Linked DNA regions of Homo sapiens: region 2 is linked to region 1. The links are contacts of gene promoters, found by promoter capture Hi-C in blood cells and fetal thymus (Javierre and others, 2016). All regions are on one chromosome and are shown on one strand. Each heading gives the region's core, a stretch centred on a gene start or on the middle of the fragment in contact. The rest is flanking DNA. Distances are from core to core; before and after follow the strand shown. Region 1 holds the start of DACT3-AS1 (DACT3 antisense RNA 1). Region 2 holds the start of TMEM160 (transmembrane protein 160).

Evidence for each region. Contacts are between HindIII fragments. The CHiCAGO score rates a contact against its expected background, and 5 or more counts as called.
Region 2: the fragment with the promoter of TMEM160 here is called in contact with the fragment with the promoter of DACT3-AS1 in region 1 in 1 of 17 cell types (activated CD4 T cells); the score reaches 5.1 in activated CD4 T cells.

What each region holds. Positions count from the first base shown.
Region 1 is chr19:46,657,919-46,664,917 of GRCh38, forward strand. It overlaps DACT3-AS1 (DACT3 antisense RNA 1), which reads left to right and starts at 2,446. Exons shown (of 3, transcript NR_040042.1): 1 at 2,446-2,490. DACT3 (dishevelled binding antagonist of beta catenin 3) reads right to left here and starts at 3,264. Exons shown (of 4, transcript NM_145056.3): 1 at 2,898-3,264. The coding sequence starts at 3,146. RefSeq lists silencers at 3,062-3,311, 3,522-3,641. The HindIII fragment of the contact is 2,055 bases long and covers 1,302-3,356 here.
Region 2 is chr19:47,044,410-47,051,408 of GRCh38, forward strand. It overlaps TMEM160 (transmembrane protein 160), which reads right to left and starts at 4,215. Exons shown (of 3, transcript NM_017854.2): 1 at 3,998-4,215; 2 at 2,184-2,276; 3 at 1,500-1,843. The coding sequence starts at 4,205. The coding sequence ends at 1,578. NPAS1 (neuronal PAS domain protein 1) reads left to right here. Exons shown (of 12, transcript NM_002517.4): 12 at 782-1,366. The coding sequence ends at 1,242. RefSeq lists enhancers at 3,643-3,712, 4,222-4,516, 4,640-5,157, 5,158-5,675 and a silencer at 3,993-4,182. The HindIII fragment of the contact is 7,920 bases long and covers 1-5,147 here.

The DNA of each region.
Region 1 (6,999 bases), core at 1,196-3,695:
GTGCATGCCTGTAATTCCAGCTACTCGGGAGGCTGAGGCAGGAGAATTGCTTGAATCCAGGAGGTGGAGGTTGCAGTGAGCCGAGAATCACTTGAACCTAGGAGGTGGAGGTTGCAGTGAGCAGAGATTGTGCCATTGCACTCTGGCCTGGGTGACAGAGCAAGATTCTGTCTCAATGAATAAATAAATAAAGGCCAGGTACAGTAGCTCACACCTGCAATCCTAGTGCTTTGAGAGGCTGAGACAGAAGGATTGCTTGAGCCCAGGAGTTGGAGACCAGCCTGAACAACATAGCAAGACCTCATATCTTTAAAAAAAAAAAAAAAATTAGCCAAATGTGGCGGTGTGCACCTGTAGTCCTAGCTTCTTGGGAGGCTGAGGCAGGAGGATTGCTTGAGGCCAAGTTAGAGGCTGCAGTGAGCTATGATCGTGCCACTGCACTTCAGCCTGAGAGACTTTGTCTCCAAAAATAAATGAATAAATAAATATATCATTTAAAAATACATAAATAAACGTGAAAGGATAGACTTTTTGGTAAGTTCTGCCAAGTCTAATTCCGGTTCTTCCATTACAAGGAAGAGCAGAAATTAGGGAGACAGACAGGAGATGCCTCCTCCTCTCCAGCACCTAGACGCCCCCCAAAAATATTCCAAGTCTACACCCCTCTATTTGCAAGTCTGGCCTCATTCCTTCCAGTTGCAAAAGGATGAATCTTTAAAAGATTAGAAAGTCCTTGGCCTGAGTCTGGCTCTCTGCCTCCTCACGGTGCCCCTCATCCTTCCTCTGCAGGCTTAATAAGAGTGTGGTTAGGACCCCTGGAGACCCCTTTGCCCAAACTTCCCTTACCTTGTTTCTCCCCTCACGTGCCCCTCGTTGGTATCCAGTGCCCATTTATCTCTATTAGGAAGTCATTCTGCAAGTCTAACTTAAGTTATTCTTGATGAAAGGAACCTTTTTCCTTCTTGAGAGCAAGCAGGACCCAGGGAGCCCCTGCCCTCACCCAGGATTCCTGCCTCTCTTCTCTGCCACACCCCTGATCTTTACCTGGTATCCCCATCATTCCTATTAGAAAGTAATCAAGTCTGGCTTCAGTCTTTCTTGCCTTGAAGGAAGTGTATTCCTGGCAGGGGCTGGGGGTGGGGGGATAAGTCATAAGACAAGGGTTGGGGGATCAGAAGAAGCCCTAATCCACTCTTCAGAGGGACCCAGGAACCCCCAGCACTAGAGAAGTTTATATTTAGCGCTTCTCTGCTCCTCCTCCTCCCCCCGCCTGCCACCGCCTCCTCCCTGATGCTGGGACAAGCTTTGCCTAGAGACTGGGGGGTGGGGGGACAGGCCTCTCCACTATCAGCTCGTGCCGGGAGGACAGAGGGCTGAGGGGGAGGAGGGGACAGAGGGACCGAGGAGAGGGAGACTGAAGGGCAGAGATGGGGAAGGTGAAGGGTGAAAAGGGGAGAGACCGAGGGCAGAGGGGGAGAGGACACAGCTACCCACAGCTACCCCAACCTCATGCCTCGCATTCTCCTTGTCAGGATGGAAGGCGCCTTCCAAGCCGAGCCAGCTTGGGGTGGGGGGAGCTAGCGAAGGCCCCCACAATCCGTCTCTAACTTTGGGAGGGGGTGGGGCCTCCCACAGCTGTTTCTGTTTCCAGAAAAGAATGTGCAGGGGGGTCCCACTCCTGAGAGGGGGAGGGGCCGGGCGTGCAGCCCCGGGAGCCTGGCTTCAGTCTTCCTCCCCACTCCCCATCTGGGGAGGGGGCGGTCGAGGTCAGCGGCGGGGAGAGCCCCCTCCACTGCCACCTCGGCTCAGGTTTCCCGAAACGGGAAGCTCTGGCCACACACAGGCTTGGGGATGGGGATCTGCCGTGGAGCCAGGGTGTGCGGGCTGGGGGGAGGGGAAGACAGACTGAGCCTGGGACGTCGGGCAAGAAGAAGAGAGCGAGGTGCAGACAGGCAGGAAGGGAAGGCCAAGGAGACAGATGCAGAGGGACACAGAGATCACAGAGACAGAGAGACAGGATGAAGAAAGAGAAGCAGACACAGAAAGTCACAGGGATGTGGCAGGACGGAGAGAGTGACAGAACCCAGGACGAGATCGGGAGACTCAAGGAATGACATAGAAAGGGGAGAGGCATGGGGCGTCCTCAAGTCATTCCGGAGACCTCTGCCCATCTTCCACCATGAGAACACCCAGAGTCCAGAAGTCTCCCCCAGGCGCTGCCTCGACCTGCCTCCCCTTGGGTCAAGGAGAGCTGGGGCCAGGTAGGAAGCAGGGGAAGTGTCACCAAAGGGTCAAGATCCCAGTGGGGGGTCCTCAGGGACTGTGAGCTTCCTCTCAGCAGTGGTCCCTCCCTCTGGAGGCCCTGAGATTCCCCTCCTCCCACCCCGCCCCCTCCAGAGATCTCCAAGCACACCAGGACTTAGGGAAGATGGAGCCCTGGTGGCGGGGCCCAGAGAAGGGCATGTTTGGAGCCTGGCTGTGTCACCTTGGGTGAGTCGCTTGCTCTCTCTGAGCCTCAATTTGTTTCTCTGTTAAATGGGGACTATCACCCCGTTTCCCAAGCCGCAAGAAGACAACGCCTGCAAAGTACCCGGTCTCGGGTTTGACACATACTTGGCGCCCACAAGGATTTTCTTTGGGGAAGGGGTGTAAGAGACAGGGCCTGTGTTTCTCACGAGGCCCCAGTGGGGGCGATGCAGTTCCCCCTCCCCCGATTTGGGGGCGGGGAGGCCAGGTCCGGCCCGCCGCCGGAACTCCGGGGTCGCCAGCCCCACCCCCTGTCCTTTCTCACTCCCTGCCTACCCGGGTCCCCAACCCCCGCCCGGTGTCTGAGCATCCAACCGAGACAGACAGACACAGACGGGGGTGGAGGGACGGACGGACAGGCAGCCCCTTACCAGCTGCTCCTCCAGGGCCGCTGCGGCCCGGCGCGCCGCCGCCGCATCTTCATCCTCATCGGCGTCCTCCTCGTCCTCGGCCTCGGCGCCCCCCATTCCGGGCTGGGCCAGCCGCAGCGCCTGCTGCACGCGGTACTCCTGCCTCTCCCGGAGCCAATGTAACTCGCAGAGCCCGGCCAGGCTACCCTCCAGCCAGCCCCGCAGCCGGCCCCGCTCAGGGCTCACCGGGAACGAGAAGGCCCGGATCATGGCTGCGGCCCCCCGCCCCAGCCCGGCCGGGCCCCGCGGCCACCCCTCTCCCGGTCCCACCTCCCCGCCCCAGCAGCCTGCCCGCCCGCCCGCTGGCCGGGCTGTCACCGTCTCATCTGCATAGGCGCCCGCCCATTGGGCCGCCCACCCGCGCCTTATCTGCATGGCCACGCCCCCGGCGACCGAGCAACAGCCGCCTATTGGCGAATAAGCTTCCTGACGAAGACTCTCGGGCGTGCAACCGCACCGCCCAACACGACGCATGCTCGCAACTGCCTACTCACTCCGCTCGCCACGCCCCCTCCGTGCAACTGCCTCGGGGCCCTGGCCACGCCCCCCCACGCGTCACAATGAAACAAGCCCGCCCTTGCTTCAATGCCATTGGTCTGTGCCTGGCCGGTCCTGCAGCAGGTTCCACCCTCTTGCGGGCGAGCGCTGGCTACCATTGGACTGTCCGGCGCGAGGGGAAGGGTGATCTATAAATAGGGAATGGGTACACGTGACAGTTTGGCAGCTGCTCCTACCCCTCCACCCCGCCCAACCTTCAGCTTCTGAGGCTGCGCAGGGGGAGAAAAGGGTTAGGGGGTCGAGCCCTGACTTCGCCTCCTCTTCCAAGAAGCCTTCCCAGACACTCAGCTGTAAAACCAGACGGACGTCCTCCGATGAAATTGTTTCTACTTAGGGCCGGCTTCACCGGCTTGGAATCCACTTAGAAGGGTCTTCGCGCTTGGTTGAATGTTCTGCAATTTCTGTCTTGAAATTTTTAGTTTTTGAGCAAGGGGCCCCTTATTTTCACTTTGCACTAGGCCAAATATGTAGCCGGTCTTGCTGCTAAGAGTCTAAGATCGATTGCATTCCAAATTCTGGAATTATAAGACCCTGGGTGGAAGATTCTATGCTTTGACCAGAAGAGAGTCTAAGCAGCTTTTGTCTCCCAGGTGCTAGGAGGATGTGTGCTCATCATTCTTCCATTCCAGGGGCCTTTGTTCTACGTTCTAAGGGGCTTTGTTCTCAGCCTTCTATGATGCTCTATTCTCAACGTTCTCTGGTCCTAGGAGTCTGAGCCTGACATTCGTTTCCAAGGCTTCCTGCTGTCTCTCCAGGCTCCGCAAGCAGGGCTGGGGCACCCTCAGGCGGCCAATCTGTATCACTACGCCGAGCCTGCCTCTACCAACTTCCAAGACCTAGCTCTAATATTCATACTCATCTCTCAGACAGACCTTGGCTCCCTAAAAGCCAAGGCCCAGAAGATCATACAAGAAATTCCCTCTTTTATGATTCCCCGTGCACGAAGTGACCTTCTGGTGGTGAGATGGAGAGAAATTGATAGTGGCGATAGACAGCAAAGTCTCCAGGAGCCAGACTTCCTCGGGGTGAGTCACAGATCTGTCACTTTCCAGCTGTGTGACCTTGGAAAACTTACTTAACCTCTCTGTGCCACCGTTTCTTCATCTGATCACGGGATCATAATACTGGCTGCCTCATACAGTTGTTCTGAGGATTCAATGAAATGTATTAGGTACTTGGAGCAGTGTCTTCCATGGATTAAGAGCCACAGAAGGGTTTGACAAATAAGTTTAAAAACTAATCTAGTAAGTTTCCGGGGGGAAATGTCTTGAAATTTATTAGAGACAACCTTTATTCAGTCTTCCTCTTGTTCAAAATAGACTTAGAAAATTAGTCGGGTGTGGTGGTGCACACCTGTAGCCCCAGCTACTTGGGAGGCTGAGGCGGGAGGATCACTTGATTTCCTTTTTGACTTCTTGATGCTTTTATTAATGATGATGCCAAAAGATTTCTGGAGAATCAGCCAGGCGCAGTGGCTCACGTCTGTAATCCCAGTACTTTGGGAGGCTGAGGCGGGCAGATCACCTGAGTTCAGGAGTTCAGATCAGCCTGGCCAACATGGCGAAACCCCATCTGTACTAAAAATACAAAAATTAGCTGGGCATGATGGCACACACCGAGACTGTGGCACTGCACTCCAGCCTGGGTAACAGAGGGAGACTCCGTCTCAAAAAAAGAAAGAAAGAAAGAAATTGAGAGAGAGAGAGAGAGAAAGAAAGAAAGAAAAAGAAAGAGAGAGAGAAAGAAAGATAGATGTCTGGAGAATCAACAAGCAACAGTTGCTTCCAAACATGGCACACAAACTGGATATGGTGGCATGTACCTGTAGTGCGAGCTACTCAGGAGGCTGAGGCAGGAGGATCACTTGAGCCTGGGAGGCTGAGGCTACAGTGAGCCATGATTGCACCATTGCACTCCAGCCTGGGTGACAGAGCAAGACCCAATCTTTAAAAAAAAAAAAAAAAATTGTGATTACAGAGACTGAGTCCCATGCAGGGGCTGTTAATGAAGTTGCAGAAGCTCATAGACCTTGATTTATAGATGGTAGGGATGGGAAGAGGTTCCCATAAAAATCGAGTGGTGCGTTGGGAGAGGCCTTTGAGGAAGGCGTGTAGGGCACAGTGCTCCATCCAAAGGCTTTGGTGGTGCGAGTGAAGGGGATGGGGCCCTGGGAGTAGTGATTTGTGCTGAGAAAGGGGAACAAAACTGACAATCCTAATTGCAGTTGTAAGACTGAGTAAACACTTTTGCAAAAGTAAGCCAGGGGCATTGTGGATCTTGCAGGCTGGAAGGTAGAATAGGGAGGGGAGATGTGTCATTTGGGAAGAGACAGAAGTTACAGCTGGAGAATTGTGATCTGAGAAGCATGTAATCAAAGATCAGTCAAAGAGAATGCAAATGAGGCCGGGTGGGGTGGCTCATGCCTGTAATCCCAGCACTTTGGGACGCAGAGGCAGGCAGATCATTTGAGGTCAGGAGTTCAAGACCAGCCTGGCCAACATGGCGAAACCCCGTCTCTACTAAAAATATAAAAATTAGCTGGGTGTGGTGGTGCACGCCTGTAATCCCAGCTACTTGGGAGGCTGAGGCAGGAGAATCGTTTGAACCTGGGAGGTGGAGGTTGCACTGAGCCGAGATCACGCCACTGCACTCCAACCTGGGCAACAGAGGGAGGCTCTGTCTCTAAATAAATAAATAAATAAAGAGAGAGAGAATGCAAATGAAAGGCAAAAGTCATATGATGAGAAGCAGGCACGGGAGGACCAGAGTGGGTATTAAAATGGGGAATCCTAGCCAGGCTCTGTGACATGCACCTGTAGTACCAGCTACCCAGAAGACAGAAGCAGGAGGATTGTGTGAGCTCAGGAGTTCAAGGCCAACCTGGGCAACATGGTGAGACCCTGTCTCTAAAATAGCGTGTGTGGGAGGGAATCCTGGAGTTTCTGATTCCAGGAGCAGGCTGTCTCATGATGTTGTCTGCTTAACCCAAGGTTCTTGGGAGAGCTGTCTACAATTGCAGCCTCGTCTGCTTCCAGGGCTCTTGAAAGAGCCTCCCTCTGAGGTCTCCAACGGGAGTGGATTCCCATTCAGCACAGGTCTTATATCTCTTCATCTCTGAGATATGAACCCAAGGCAGGACAGTCTGGTGTTTGCAATAGTGTAGGGTCCATCCCATCTGAGTTCAAGGTTAGTCTTCCTGCGATGTCTTTTCCGGAGGACTAAATTCCCTGTTTGGAAATTATGAAGAGGCCGTGATGGAGTATTTGGAGGGAAGGCAGCTCACACTTGTTAGTGACAAGCATAAGTGTACTTAGTCCTTGATAATATCTGAGAATGTCGATTGTAATAGATTAGAGTCCTCAAGGGCCCAATAGGAGTAGAATCCTTGTGAGTCTTTGAGTGATTATTTCATAAGAAGATTATTGATATGTGCTCTGGTAGGAAGAGTAATGGCCCCCCCCTAAGATGTCTACATCTTTATCCCTGGAACCTGTGAATATAGCAC
Region 2 (6,999 bases), core at 2,965-5,464, 390 kb after region 1:
CTCACTCACACCTGCCACATATTGCATGCACAGTGGCCACATGTGGCCAGTGGCTGCTTCGTGGGACAGTGTGGATGTAGAACATTTCCATTACCACAGAAAGCTCTATCCTGGAAACTTCCACTGAAGAGCACAGGTCTAGACCAGGGTATCTTGATCTCTGCTCTACTGACATTTTAGGGCCAGGTGATTCTGTGTTGGAGGGGACACTGTGGGATGTTTATTTTACAGCATCCCTGGCCTCTACCCTCTAGATGCCAATGGTGACCTCCCCAGGGCTGTGACACCCCAAAATATCTCCAGATATTGCCAGGTGTCTCCTGGTGACAGAACCAGCTGGCCGGGCACAGTGGCTCACGCCTGTAATCCCAGCACTTTGGGAGGCTGAGGCAGGCAGATCACCTGAGGTCAGGAGTTTGAGACCAGTCTGGCCAACATGGCGACACCCCATCTCTACTTAAAATAGAAAAATTAGCTGGGTGTGGTGGCACACACCTGTAATCCCAGCTACTGGGGAGGCTGAGGCAGGAGAATAGCTTGAACCCCAGAGGCGGAGGTTGCAGTGAGCTGAGATGGTGCTGGTGCACTCCAGCCTGGGGGACAGAGCAAGACTCCGTCTCACAAAAAAACAAAAAACAAAAACAAAACAAACAAACAAAAAAAAAAACCCCACTCCCAGCTGAGAACTACAGGTCTGGCCCACTAAGCACAGCTCCATTCCACAGATGGGAAGACTGAGGGCTGGGGACACACACAGGCCCTCAGCATCTTCCTCTTCCAGAGCCGGAGCCTCCGACGGAAGGGAAGCAGGCTGCCCCAGCGGAGAACGAGGCCCCCCAGACCCAGGGCAAACGCATCAAAGTGGAGCCCGGCCCGAGGGAAACCAAAGGCTCCGAGGACAGTGGCGACGAGGATCCCTCCAGCCACCCGGCCACACCGAGGCCCGAGTTCACCTCTGTCATCCGGGCAGGGGTCCTGAAGCAGGATCCGGTGCGGCCATGGGGCCTGGCGCCTCCCGGGGACCCCCCGCCCACCCTCCTGCACGCGGGCTTCCTGCCGCCGGTGGTGCGGGGCCTGTGCACACCCGGCACCATCCGCTACGGCCCCGCGGAGCTGGGCCTGGTGTACCCGCACCTGCAGAGGCTGGGTCCGGGCCCCGCGCTCCCGGAGGCCTTTTACCCGCCCCTGGGCCTGCCCTACCCGGGGCCCGCGGGCACCAGGCTGCCGCGGAAGGGGGACTGAGGACTGGCAGAGCTGCCGGCGCCGGACCCTGCGACAACCGGGGTCCCCCAGGACAGTAGGCCCGGCTCTGCCCGTAGCCCTGAGAATTAAACGCCGGCTCTCCCTGCAGTGGTTTGGGCTCCGGGCTGTGAGCTCCTCTGTCCATTTCTGTCTCCCCCGGGTCCTCACCCCCCTCTCCCTCCACCCGCCCTCCTGCCTCTCCAGTTAGTCCGCTCCTCGCCGCCCTTCCCAAGGAACACGAACCAATACTCTGCATCTGGAGGAGGGGAGGTCAGGTTTAATGTCCCAGTCCTCGGGCGCTGTCCAGCGCCTGCCAGGCCCCACGGCCGTGTCGCTCACTCGGGTGGCGGCCGACCCGCCTCATCAGGGCCTTCCGCGGAGGCCGTCCCGTCGTCCTCGGGCACCAGCTCCACGTCCAGCTCCAGCTGCCCCATGTAGAGGCCCACGGCGCACGCCCAGAGCAGGCTGGCGGCCAGCACGGCGCCCGCGCCCACGGCCGCGCCCCCCAGCGTCAGCTGCATGGGTCCTCGCAGCGCCGCCAGGCCCACGGCGTACGAGGCGCTGCCCCACACCACGCACAGGCCGCCCAGCAGGAAGAAGCCTGCGGGAGAGGCAGGGTAGCAACAGGGCCAAGGTCGGGGGATGGTCTGGGAGCAAAGCCAGGGTTGAGGAGACAGGAACAGAGGCAGGGCCGTGCCAGGGGCTAGCCTGCATCTTTGAGAATCAGATCGGAGGGGAGGGGACCATAACCATGTCCTGGGCCACCCATTCAGATGGACCTAGTGCCTATGGGAGGGGTGTCTTCTGGTGGGGGAAGAATGGGGGTTCTATACTTACTACTGGGAGTGGGATGGGGTAGGAGAGTCTACTCTCACCAGGGCAGGTGATAGGGGCTCTGCATTCCCTGGTTCCGTGGGGCGAGAGGGGGGGTCTGCACTCACCATATGCTGCTTCCCGACCCATGTCACTCTGCATGAAGGAGATGACCCCGATGCCCGATGCCAGGAGGCCATTGCGGAACCAGGAGAGGAAGGCTGGAGGGAGGGGGACATGGGGGGATTAACATCACCCCCAACCCTACCTCCTCAATCCCCCTTACCCAGTCAAACTGAGGGGCCTCCCTTCAGCTCACCCCATCCCATCCAGCCGCAAGGCAAGCCCATCCCAAATCCTCACCTCTTCCAGGAAGCCGCTCACCTAACCATATCCCCCCACATCCTCTCTGGCCTCCACCTCAGTGCCCCTCTCCCCCAAACTCTGTAACACTAAGGATTCAAGGGCCGGGTGTGGTGGCTCACCCCTGTAATCCCAGCACTTTGGGAGGCCAAGGCAGGCGGATCATGAGGTCAGGAGTTTGAGACCAGCCTGGCCAACATAGTCAAACCCTGTCTCTACTAAAAATGTTAAAATTAGCAGGGTGTGGTAGCACGTGCTTGTAGTCCCAGCTACTCAGGAAGCTGAGGGAGGAGAATCACTTGAATCCAGGAGGTAGAGGTTGCAGCGAGCCAAGATCATGCCACTGCACTCCAGCCTGGGCGACAGAGTGAGACTCCGTCTCAAAAAAAATAAAGGATTCAAGATAGTCCCTGCAGAATGTGGAGGACAATCTAGGGGCAAAGTTGCAGAACCTCCATCTGAGGAGTCATCTTGGCCAAACCCCTCCCTCTACGTGTACCCCCACGGCCTGCCCACTCACTTCTTTCTCAGAACTCTGGGACAAACTGTTTCCTAATCCAGGCCGCTCTTCAGCCTCGCCCTTCTTTTCCTTCAAATGCCGCCATCTCCTACCGAGTATGGCCTGGGCCAATCCCATCCATGTCCTACCGAGTATGGCCTGGGCCAATCCCACCCACGTCCGTCCCCATTCACGTCCTTTACAAACAGCCCACCACACCCTATATCTAGATGCCCGGTCCTGGCCTAGTGAGGTGACTCACACCTATAATCCCAGCACTTTGGGAAGCCAAGGCAGGAGGATTCTCTGAGCCCAAGAGTTCAGACCAGCCTGGGCAACAAAGCAAGACCCCGTCTCTACATAAATTAAAATAGTTGGGTGCGGTGGTGTATGCCTGTAGCTCCAGCTAAGCAGGAGGCTGAGGCAAGAGGATAGCTTGAGCCCAGGAGTTCAAGGCTGCAGTGGGCTACGATTGCGCCACTGCGGTCCAGCCTCGGTGACAGAGCAAGACACCGTCATTAAAAAAATAAAATTAAAAAAAAAACAAACATGGCCAGTCCGCTCCATTCTGGACCTCGCCTCCGTCACAAGCCCCGCCCTCTGCAGCCTAGATCACCTCCCCCTCCAATCAGCAGAGAGCTTTCTCCCGATTGGTTGTCCCCTTCTCCAATCCTGAACTTCCCCCTCTTCTGCGGGGATCCACACTCCCGCTCTCTGCACAGTGGTGGCCTCTGCAATCGGGATGGACCCATCTTGTACCCAACTCCACAGACCCTAAGCTCTCCCTGAAGCCCCTCTCCCCACGGCAGGCGCGATTCTACGAGGCTGCCTCGCGCAACCCTACCACCCCCTCCAATCCCTACGGCGCCCCGTTACCCGGGGTCCTCGTCCTCCCCGCAAGCCCATCCCCTCTGCGGGCACCTGCGCTCTTGCAGTCTGCGCTTCCGTGCGCTCACACTGAAGCCCTTCTCGGAGCCGAGCCCGGGCCCCGTTTCCTGCAGAAGCCCCCGCCCCATCAAGGTCCCACGCGAGCCCGGGACCCCCGTCCCATCCGCACCGCCCCCACCCCTAGCCACCGACCTGTCTCGTGCGCTTTTCGGAGGAGCCAGGCGTCCGCACGATCCAGCTCGGACACTGGGGGCGGCGAAGCCCCGGCGCGGGGACCGTGGCCGGGGGCGAAGGACCCCCGGGCGCCCCCGCTCCGGGGCCGCTGAGGCGGCAGTAGCGACCTCCGGAAGCGAAGACGGGCAAGGCGAGCGGCCCGAGCCCACCACCAGCCGCCTCCCATGATTCGCACTACGGCCGCCGCGCGCCGTACCGCCCCACCGGCCTCCGGTAGGTTGCAACCCATGTCACTCAGGATGAATGGCTTACCCATTGGCTATGCGCTCGCCACTCAGGTCCGGCGTGAACTGTCCATTGGTCGGAATGGCAGTGATTCCCTCCTCTGTCATCTAGGCCGGTAGTGCCCGTCCCTCCTTGATTTTGTACCGGACTACGAATCCCAGCGATCATTGCGCTCGGGGAAAGCCGATATTCAGAAGTCGCAGGCGAGATGTCTGCTGGGAATTGTAGTTTTAATTCTATCTTTTTTAACGGAGTACATGCCGAGCACCTATTGTAGTTGTTTCTTGGTTGTTTCTCTTTCTTTCTTTCTCTTTCTTTCTTTCTTTCTTTTTCTTTCTTTCTCTTTCTTTCTTTCCTTCTTTCTTTCTTTCTCTCTTTCTTTTTCCCTCCCTCCCTCCCTTCCCTCCCCTCCTTCCTTCCTTCCCTCCTTCCTTTTTTTTCCCCGCCCCGAGACCGAGTCTTGCTCTGTCGCCCAGGCTGGAGTGCAGTGGTGCGATCTCGGCTCACTGCAACCTCCACCTCCCGGGTTCAAGCGATTCTCCTGCGTCAGCCTCCTGAGTAGCTGGGATTATAGGCATGCGCCACCACGCCCAGCTAATTTTTGTATCTTTAGTAGAGACAGGGTTTCACCATGTTGGCCAGGCTGGTCTCGAACTCCTGACCTCAAGTGATCCAACCGCCTCGGCCTCCAAAAGTGCTGGGATTACAGGCGTGAGCCACCGTGCCCGGCCAGGTCTGTCTCTTTAAGACAGATTTGTTTTCTTTGCCCTAACCCATTCCGGGATTCAGCTTTGCCTTCTCTCATCAGCATAAACCTTTTCACTAGCCAGGAATGTGAAAAATGTGTCTGGAATATTTTCAATTTGCACTTAATCCCATTTAAAGCTTCACATTCATTGCAAGCCTGCAGGCTATGCAGTGCAGTCCATTTGAACTCCCTCCTCAAGTGTAACCCCCTTGCTAGCTCCCCTACTTTTCCTCTTCATAAAATCCAAGCCCGGGCCAGGCACGGTGGCTCACATCTGTAATCCCACCACTTTGGGAGTCTGAGGCGGGCAGATCACGAGATCAGGAGTTCGAGACCAGCCTGACCAACATGGTGAAACCCCATCTCTACTAAAAATACAAAAATTAGGCATGGTGGCAGGCACCTGTAATCCCAGCTACTTGTGAGGCTGAGGCAGGAGAATCGTTTCATGCGCGTCCATGTGAAGAGACCACCAAACAGGCTTTGTGTGAGCAAGATGGCTGTTTATTTCACCTGGCTGCAGGCAGGCTGAGTCCGAAAAGAGAGTCAGCAAAGGGTGGTGGATTATCATTAGTTCTTAGAGGTTTTGGGATAGGCGGTGAAGTTAAGAGCAATGTTTTGCGGGCAGGGGTGGATCTCACACAGTACATTCTCAAGGGTGGGGAGAATTACAAAGAACCTTCTTAAGGGTGGGGGAGATTACAAAGTACATTGATCAGTTAGGTGGGGCAGGAACAAATCACAATGGTGGAATGTCATCAGTTAAGGCTATTTTTACTTCTTTTGTGGATCTTCAGTTACTTCAGGCCATCTGGATGTATACGTGCAAGTCACAGGTGATGCGATGGCTTGGCTTGGGCTCAGAGGCCTGACATTTCTGCCTTCTTTTATTAATAAGAAAAATAAAACAAAATAGTGTTGAAGTCTTGGGGGGTGGTATGGAGAGAGAATGGGCGATGTTTCTCGGGGCTGCTTCAAGCAGGATTAGGGGCGGCGTGCGAACCTAAAGTGGGAGAGATTAAGCTGAAGGAAGATTTTGTGGTAAGGGGTGATATTGTGGGGTTGTTAGAAGAAACATTTGTTGTGTAGAAGTATTGGTGATGGCCTGGGTACAGTTTTGTATGAATTGAAAAACTAAATGGAATAAGAGAAGGAGAAAAACAGGTATAAAAGGTCTAAGAATTGGGAGGACCTAGGACATCTGATTAGAGAGTGCCTAAGGAGATTCAGCATAGTCCTGCCAGCAAAGATTATTTGTTTACTTCAGGAGTTAAGAGTGGCAGTTTGGGGATAGCATGAGGAGATATCAGCTGTGATGGCTTGGAGAAACAGTGTAAACCAGCAGTGTAAACAAGAGCAGGGCACGTATGAGTAGTTGAGAACGGAGAATAGGAGTATGACTAGACAGAAAATAGTAGGGATGACAAGTTTTTTTGGGGCACAGTCTAAGTTGGTCCGGTGTCTGGAATGAGACTGGGGCCTAATAAAAAGGATTGTCCATACAGGAGCTCAAATAGGCTGTACCCTGCAGCATTCTGAGAAGCAAAAGAGGTAAAAGTATTGTCCAGTCCTTTTTAAGTTGGTGGCTGAGCTTGGTGAGGTGTGTTTTTAAAAGACCTTTAGTCCGTTCTACTTTTCTTGAAGACAGAGGACCGTAAGGGATATAAAGGTTTCACTGAATACTAAGAGCCTGAAAAACTGCTTGGCTGATTTGACTAATAAAGGCTGGTCTGTTATCAGACTGTATAGAGGTGGGAAGGCTAAACTGAGGAATTATGTCTGACAGAAGGGAAGAAATGACTGCGGTGGCCTTCTCAGACCTTGTAGAAAAGGCCTGTACCTATCCAGTGAAAGTGTCTGCCTAGACTAAGAGGTATTTTGGTTTCCTGACTCGGGGCATGTTGAGTAAAGCTAATTTGCCAGTCCTGGGTGGGGGCAAATCCCTGAGCTTGATGTGTAGGGAAGGGAGGGGGCCTGAATAATCCCT